2 separate regions of the Homo sapiens genome follow, and region 1 is linked to region 2. The links are contacts of gene promoters, found by promoter capture Hi-C in blood cells and fetal thymus (Javierre and others, 2016). All regions are on one chromosome and are shown on one strand. Each heading gives the region's core, a stretch centred on a gene start or on the middle of the fragment in contact. The rest is flanking DNA. Distances are from core to core; before and after follow the strand shown. Region 1 has its middle 14 kb from the start of LINC02909. Region 2 holds the start of KRAS (KRAS proto-oncogene, GTPase).

Region 1 (3,121 bases), core at 523-3,022, 240 kb before region 2:
CACCTGTAATCTCAGCACTTTGGGAGGCCCAGGCAGGTGGATCCCTTAAGTCCAGAAGTTCAAGACCAGCCTGGGCAACATGGTGGAATCCCATCTGTACAAAAAATACAAAAATTAGCTGGGTGTGGTGGCACATGCCTGTAGTCCCAGCTACTAGGGAGGCTGAGGTGGGAGGATTGCTTAAGCCCAAGAGATTGAGGTTGCAGTGAACCAGGAGCATTCCAGCTGAGCAACATAGCAAGACCCTGTGTCAAAAAACAAACAAAAAAAAAAAACAGTTCTCTCTCTAAATAACTGTATTAGTCATTTTATTTCTCTTTCTAATAGTGTCACATCTAAATGACATGTTAAGTTTAAATAATGTTAAAGTTATTAAAAACTTTGAAGTTATTCAGCCTCCTTTATGAGTATCTCCTCCTTCTAATTAAGAGACTTTTTTTTTTCTGATGTCATGGTCTATCCTTATTTCCTTAAGGGAAGAACCTTCTCTGTGGCATCTGCCCTCTCAAACTTCTACTTAATTTTTCCCTCTCCTTTGCAAGTAGCCAGCCCAAGGCAGGCCTTTGATGGGAGTAAAAGAAAAGTCTTATGTTTAAAAAAGATTGGTGTGTCAATGACTAACATAGTTTGGATGATTTTCTTTTCTGAATGTGATAGTAGGGATGACTGTCTAAAAATGCCTCCTCCACCCCCTAAAAAGTAGAAATTTTCACTTGAGATTGAAATTTTAACTAAAGTAGAGAAAAAAACTTCCTTCATTGAAGGCTTTTCAAGGAACTGAAAGGAAAAAATGTAATGTCATTTTGGTCACCTCCCATGAGAAATTATTGATTACATATATCATCAATATTTAAACCTCGCAACTCTGTGTGATAGGTATCATCGTCCCCATCTCAGATAAAGAAACAGGTTCAGAGAGGTTAATATTCCCAAAGCTACACAGCTGGTAATCTTCAGAGCCAAGATTTGACACTAGGTCCATTAGACTTTAGCCCAAGGCCAGTGTTCTTTACAATATACCATGCCAGCTCCGCAGGACTGCCAGGGTTATATATCATGTTTCTAGGATCAGGAAACATTAAAGAGATAGGTGCTTCACTTGTGAAAAATATAACTTTTCTGTCTTTCAGAACTGATCTGCTCTTCTTTTTCCAAAGGCTCAGTCGGAGTGGCCAAAATAATCAATTTCCTGAGACAAACAACTAGCCAAAATTCTGAAGACAGTGGCCTTGAGCAGTTGTGGAACATGCTTGATCCTGAGAAGAGAGACCCACATGTGGACCTGGAAACTTTCCAGGCCATGATGAAAGACTGGATGGCTTACTGTGGAAACACATGGTAATCAGAGTCCTAGTGGGATGCAGTTTAAGGTTCTATTTTAACAACTGATTATAATTATGCTAATCACTGTTTCCTGTGTTGATGGAAATACTATTGTCCAGTGCTTTAGCATGCATTAGAATCACCTGAATGATGTTAAACCTGATTGCTGGGGTCCCACCATCATGATTCAGCAGATCTGGGGTGAAGCCTGATAATTTACATTCTAACAAGTTTCCGATGATATTGATGCTGGGAGTGGGCTGGACATGCTTTGGGAACCACTGCTGTCATTCATTTCTTGTGATTAGTGGGGAGCACATGTGATACTCTCACAGAGAATTGAGCTGACATACGAGTCAGGTGAATTATTGATACTATCAAATCTCCAAATGTATTTAAATTCAATAATAGACTCCCTTTTAAGGGCAGTGGGGCTAGTCAGTGAATGTAATTTGGAATCCTAGAATATAGGGAGGCTAAGGGGAACAAGAAAGAATAGTAGAATAGGAAAAAGAAAAAGGTAAAGGAGGAGAAGGGCACCCCATGATCTCAGGTGCCCTTGGCAGATGCTGGAGATGTGTGTCTTCTTCCACAGAAAGCGAATTCCCTTTTTTTTTTTTTTTTTTTTTTTTTTCTGAGACGGAGTTTCACTCTGTTGCCCAGGCTGGAATACAGTGATGCAATCTCTGCTCACTGCAACCGCTGCCTCCCGGGTTCAAGCAATTCTCCCGCCACACCCTCCAGAGTAGCTGGAATCACAGGTGTGTGCCACCATGCCCGGCTAATGCTTGTATTTTTAGTAGAGAAGGGGTTTCACCATGTTGTCCAGGCTGGTCTCGAACTCCTGATCTCAGCTGATCTGCCCACCTCGGCCTCCCAAAGTGCTGGGATTACAGGTGTGAGCCACCCACTGCACCTAGCCAAGAAACCTAATTCCTATGCCTCCTATTCAGCCACCAATCTTCAGCTATCTGCTGATGCATGCTAGGATTTGCTTAAAGAAAATGTTGACAGGGCGCGATGGCTCACACCTGTAATCCCAGCATTTTGGGAGGCTGAGGCAGGTGGAACAGCTGAGGTTGGCAGTTGGAGACCAGCCAGGCCAACGTGGTGAAACCCTGTCTCTACTAAAAATACAAAAATTAGCTGGGCGTGGTGGTTCACGCCTGTGATCCCAATCACGTGGGAAGCTGAGGCGGGAGAATTGCTTGAACCTGGGAGGTGGAGGTTGAAGTGAGCCGAGATCGTGCCATAGCACTCTAGCCTAGGCAACAGAGACTCCGTCTCAAAAAGAGAGAAAATGTCAAGCCCAAGGAACGGAAAAACTTACCAGATTTCTGGTAGGATTAGGATGTATAGATAACTTAAGAAAATATGACTGAAATGTTGCATGCCATACACAGGTTATTCATGAAGTCAAGATAAATATATAGAAATAAGTAATGTTAGTGTAATCAAAAACTGCAAATACAGATATAACATTTCTACCCATGAGTTTAACAAAGATTTTTAAAAAATGACTCTAGCCCATGTGGTGGACTGTGAAAAGGGTGGAGAAATAAGCCCTCCCATATATTATTGGTAGTAGTGCAAGTTAGCATAGCTTTTTTAAGAGCAATTTAGGAATGTGTATCAGGCCCTTAAAAATATGCAGTCTTGGCCGGGGGTGGTGGCTCGTGCCTGTAATCCCAGCACTTTGGAAGGCCAAGGCGGGAGCATCACCTGAGGCCAGGAGTTTGAGACCAGTCTGGGCAACTTAGCAAGATTCTGTCTCTACAAAAAAATTTTAAAATTAGCC
Region 2 (3,434 bases), core at 375-2,874:
GAGAATTGCTTGAATGCAGGAGGCAGAGGTTGCAGTGAGCCGAGACGGCGCCACTGCACTCCAGCCTGGGCAACAGAGCAGATGGAGACCATCCTGACCAACATGATGAAACTCTGTCTCTACTAAAAATACAAAAATTAGCTGGGCATGGTGGCGTGCACCTACTAGTCCCAGCTACTCGGGAGGCTGAGGCAGGAGAATTGCTTGAACCCAGGAGGCGGAGGTTTCAGTGAGCCGATACCGCGCCATTGCACTCCAGCCTGGGCAACAGAGCGAGACTGTGTCTCAAAAAAAAAAAAAAAAAGGAGATGCACATGTTTAAGTCTATTTCAGGCGGTTAGCTGGTGGATTGCTACAATTCCTCTGTAAGTTTAAAAAATCATGTAAGTGCTGTTTTGGAGTACTGTAATAACTCTTGAGATGTAGAACACATCTGCAAAATGAGGGTAGTATAAAAGAGACGAGGGGATGAGGGTAATACATAAGAAATAGGGGAAAGGACAAGAACAGGTAAATTAAACTTCAAGTACTATTTTTGCTATTGCTGTCTACACTCAACTAGCAAGGAAAAAGCCTTGCTTCTGCTCTGCGGGTTTTCTTCGGGTTTAACTTGACCAAGCAAAACAGACCATCTGGGATTAACTTTTTCCTTTTCACTGTAGGTCACAGGCTCTACGTGTAGGGTGTTGGCCACCTGTTCTTCCACCATCTCTACCTCCACCTCCTCCTTTGTGGCCACAGCAATGTCACAGCCCATACATGGGGGAGGGGAGCATTCAGGAACTCGGAGGCAGATGCATTTTTTTCCAAACACAATAACCTCAAACAGTGGTCTCTAAGCACTTTCCTATGCTCTTCCAAAACGTGACCTCCCCTCTTACTCACACATCCCCTACACACGGAAAAGGACCACTATCCGTCCAGCCTGCGCTCGAGGGAGAAGTTTATACCTTCGTCCTAGAGATGCCAAATGCAGCAGGGAAGGCTGGACCGAGGCAGCCGAGTGCTGGAAAGGGAGGCAAGAGGTGCGGGAGCGGGGAGAGGGGGAGGGGAGGCCGGGGCGCCGCGGGAGTAACCTCCACCGCACCCCACCGCTCCGAGGGGCAGCCGGCCCGGCCCGAGTTTCTCCCCAGAAGCCTCCAGCCGCGGCTCTCGGGGAGGAGGAAGGAAGGGGTTCCCCGTCCAGGAAGCAGCACCAGCGGCGACCGCCTCCAGCCTCACCCTCCTCAGCCCCGCACCGCCCATTCCTCACTCCCCGCGCCGCCGCGTCCGCGCGCCTCCCCCCTGCAGACCCCTCTCACCCAGCCCGCCCCGACCCCGCGCCCGCGCCCCCCACCCGCCCCTCCGGGGACCCCTAATTCATTCACTCGCCGCCGGCCCCGCCCGGCGCCGGCAAAGAGGGTCGGGACCCGGGCAGGGGCCCAGGAGGGGTGGTCCGCTCCGTACCTCTCTCCCGCACCTGGGAGCCGCTGAGCCTCTGGCCCCGCCGCCGCCTTCAGTGCCTGCGCCGCGCTCGCTCCCAGTCCGAAATGGCGGGGGCCGGGAGTACTGGCCGAGCCGCCGCCACCTTCGCCGCCGCCACTGCCGCCGCCGCTGCTGCCTCCGCCGCCGCGGCCGCCGCCTAGGAAAATCGAGCTCCGAGCACACCGATGAGTTCGGGGCCGGGCGGCCGCAGAGGGCAGAGCTATCGATGCGTTCCGCGCTCGATTCTTCTTCAGACGGGCGTACGAGAGGGAGCGGCTGAGGGCGGTGTGGGAAGAGGGAAGAGGGGGAGGCAGCGAGCGCCGGCGGGGAGAAGGAGGGGGCCGGGCCGGGCCGGCGGGGGAGGAGCGGGGGCCGGGCCGGCGGAGGAAGGGGTGGCTGGGGCGGTCTAGGGTGGCGAGCCGGGCCGGCTGGAGAGCGGGTCTGGGCGGCGCCTTGGCGGGAGGAGGGACTGCCGGACCCACGCGGCGGCCCGCCCCCTGCCTAGCCGCAAGGCTGTCCCCGCAGCCGCCAATTCTGACCCGGAGCGGGACCGGACCGCGGCGGGCTGTGCGGATGCCACCAGGGAGACGCCGCGAGCGGCCACGCCGCCCCGCTGACCGGTCTCCACAGAGAAGCTGCGAAGAGCACCCCGCCACCCTCAGGGTCGGCCTATACTGGCGCGCATCCATTTACTATCATTGACTGCATGTAAATAAACAAGCAGTCACCAAAAGTGGGAGGCGACTTCGGGGACTTAGGGAGACCGGGCGGACGATTTCCCACACCGGGGCTGTCTGATCGCCGCCCCGATTATTATCAGCCTCAGCACTTGGGCTGGGAATTTAGCCCCAGGCCCAAACAAACACGACAGACCCTTTCAACGCTAATCTTCTCGGGTCAGGAGGCTTGTGATATTTTGCTATCTTTCTTGATATTTTGAACCCATCACAAGGTCTCTAAACAGGGACTTCGCTTATACCCAGGGCCCCTGAAATCACAAACAAAAGACAACTGTTTTTAAGTAGAGATGGCCTTGGTAGTTTAGACCTGAGGAGAGTCATTCAAACATTAATTAGAAGACAGATTAATCAGTTAAAGTTCGTGGAGTTAAGACATTAAACAATGGGGCAATTAAACATGCTAGCATACCCGGAGTCTGTGTTGATAAACTACCTAGAAATGTATCTTGGGAGAGTCTTGAGGATTGAGGGCTGGAAAAGCAGCGCCTGTACCTGATAGGATCGCCCCTCCTCCGAGACTTTCAGTTCCATTCCTCTAGTCCACATCATAAACCACCAATAAAGCTGAATTTAAATCCCAGCTATTATGTCTGTTAACCAAGGCTTTACATCAACTGTCATCCTTTCCTTTCTACTCTTACACGGGCTGTAATCTGCAAGGTTTATTCCAGTCTCCCCCTCCTAGCGCCAGGTGGAAGGGGCAGAAGAGAAAAGTGAAAGACAGGGAAGGGGAGAAAATGTGCCTACTCTATGTTAAGTACAAGCTAAATCTTTTGCACTTATCGTATCATCTTATTTAATCATCACGACAACCTTATGAGGTAAAATACTTTTTACCGTTTTACAAATGACGAAACAGATTTAGAGGTTAAAACGTTGGCACAAGTTCACATAGTTAAAAAATGGAGTATACTTCATGTCGGATCATAGTCACTCTACTCCCAGATCATCAGTGGCCCTCATTCCACTTGACATAAAAGCAAAATTCTTCTCAAAAATCCTACATGGCCTTAAATTATTTGATATCCCCTACCCTCTTCTCTGAACTCTCATCCTACTGTTCTCCCTTCCTTACTTACGTAGATAAACATTGGTTACTGGCTGTTCCTTGAAAATGCCAGGCAGGCGTCTTCCTCAGGGAATATGCACTTGCTACCCCTCTGGCACCTCATTTAAATCTTTGTTCCAAAGTGTTTTTAAAAGGAGATCTTCCCTAAAAAGATCATCTTT

The links. The method cuts DNA at HindIII sites, captures the fragments that hold promoters and counts their contacts. A CHiCAGO score of 5 or more calls a contact.
Region 1: a fragment that was not itself captured here is called in contact with the fragment with the promoter of KRAS in region 2 in 1 of 17 cell types (neutrophils); the score reaches 6.6 in neutrophils.

The regions. Positions count from the first base shown.
Region 1 is chr12:25,010,214-25,013,334 of GRCh38, forward strand. It overlaps a transcript of IRAG2 not described here. Among named protein-coding and RNA genes, the nearest start is that of LINC02909, 14 kb to the left of the region's middle. The HindIII fragment of the contact is 5,001 bases long and covers 1-3,121 here.
Region 2 is chr12:25,249,305-25,252,738 of GRCh38, forward strand. It overlaps KRAS (KRAS proto-oncogene, GTPase), which reads right to left and starts at 1,625. Exons shown (of 5, transcript NM_004985.5): 1 at 1,447-1,625. RefSeq lists silencers at 1,226-1,275, 1,336-2,185. The HindIII fragment of the contact is 14,779 bases long and covers 1-3,434 here.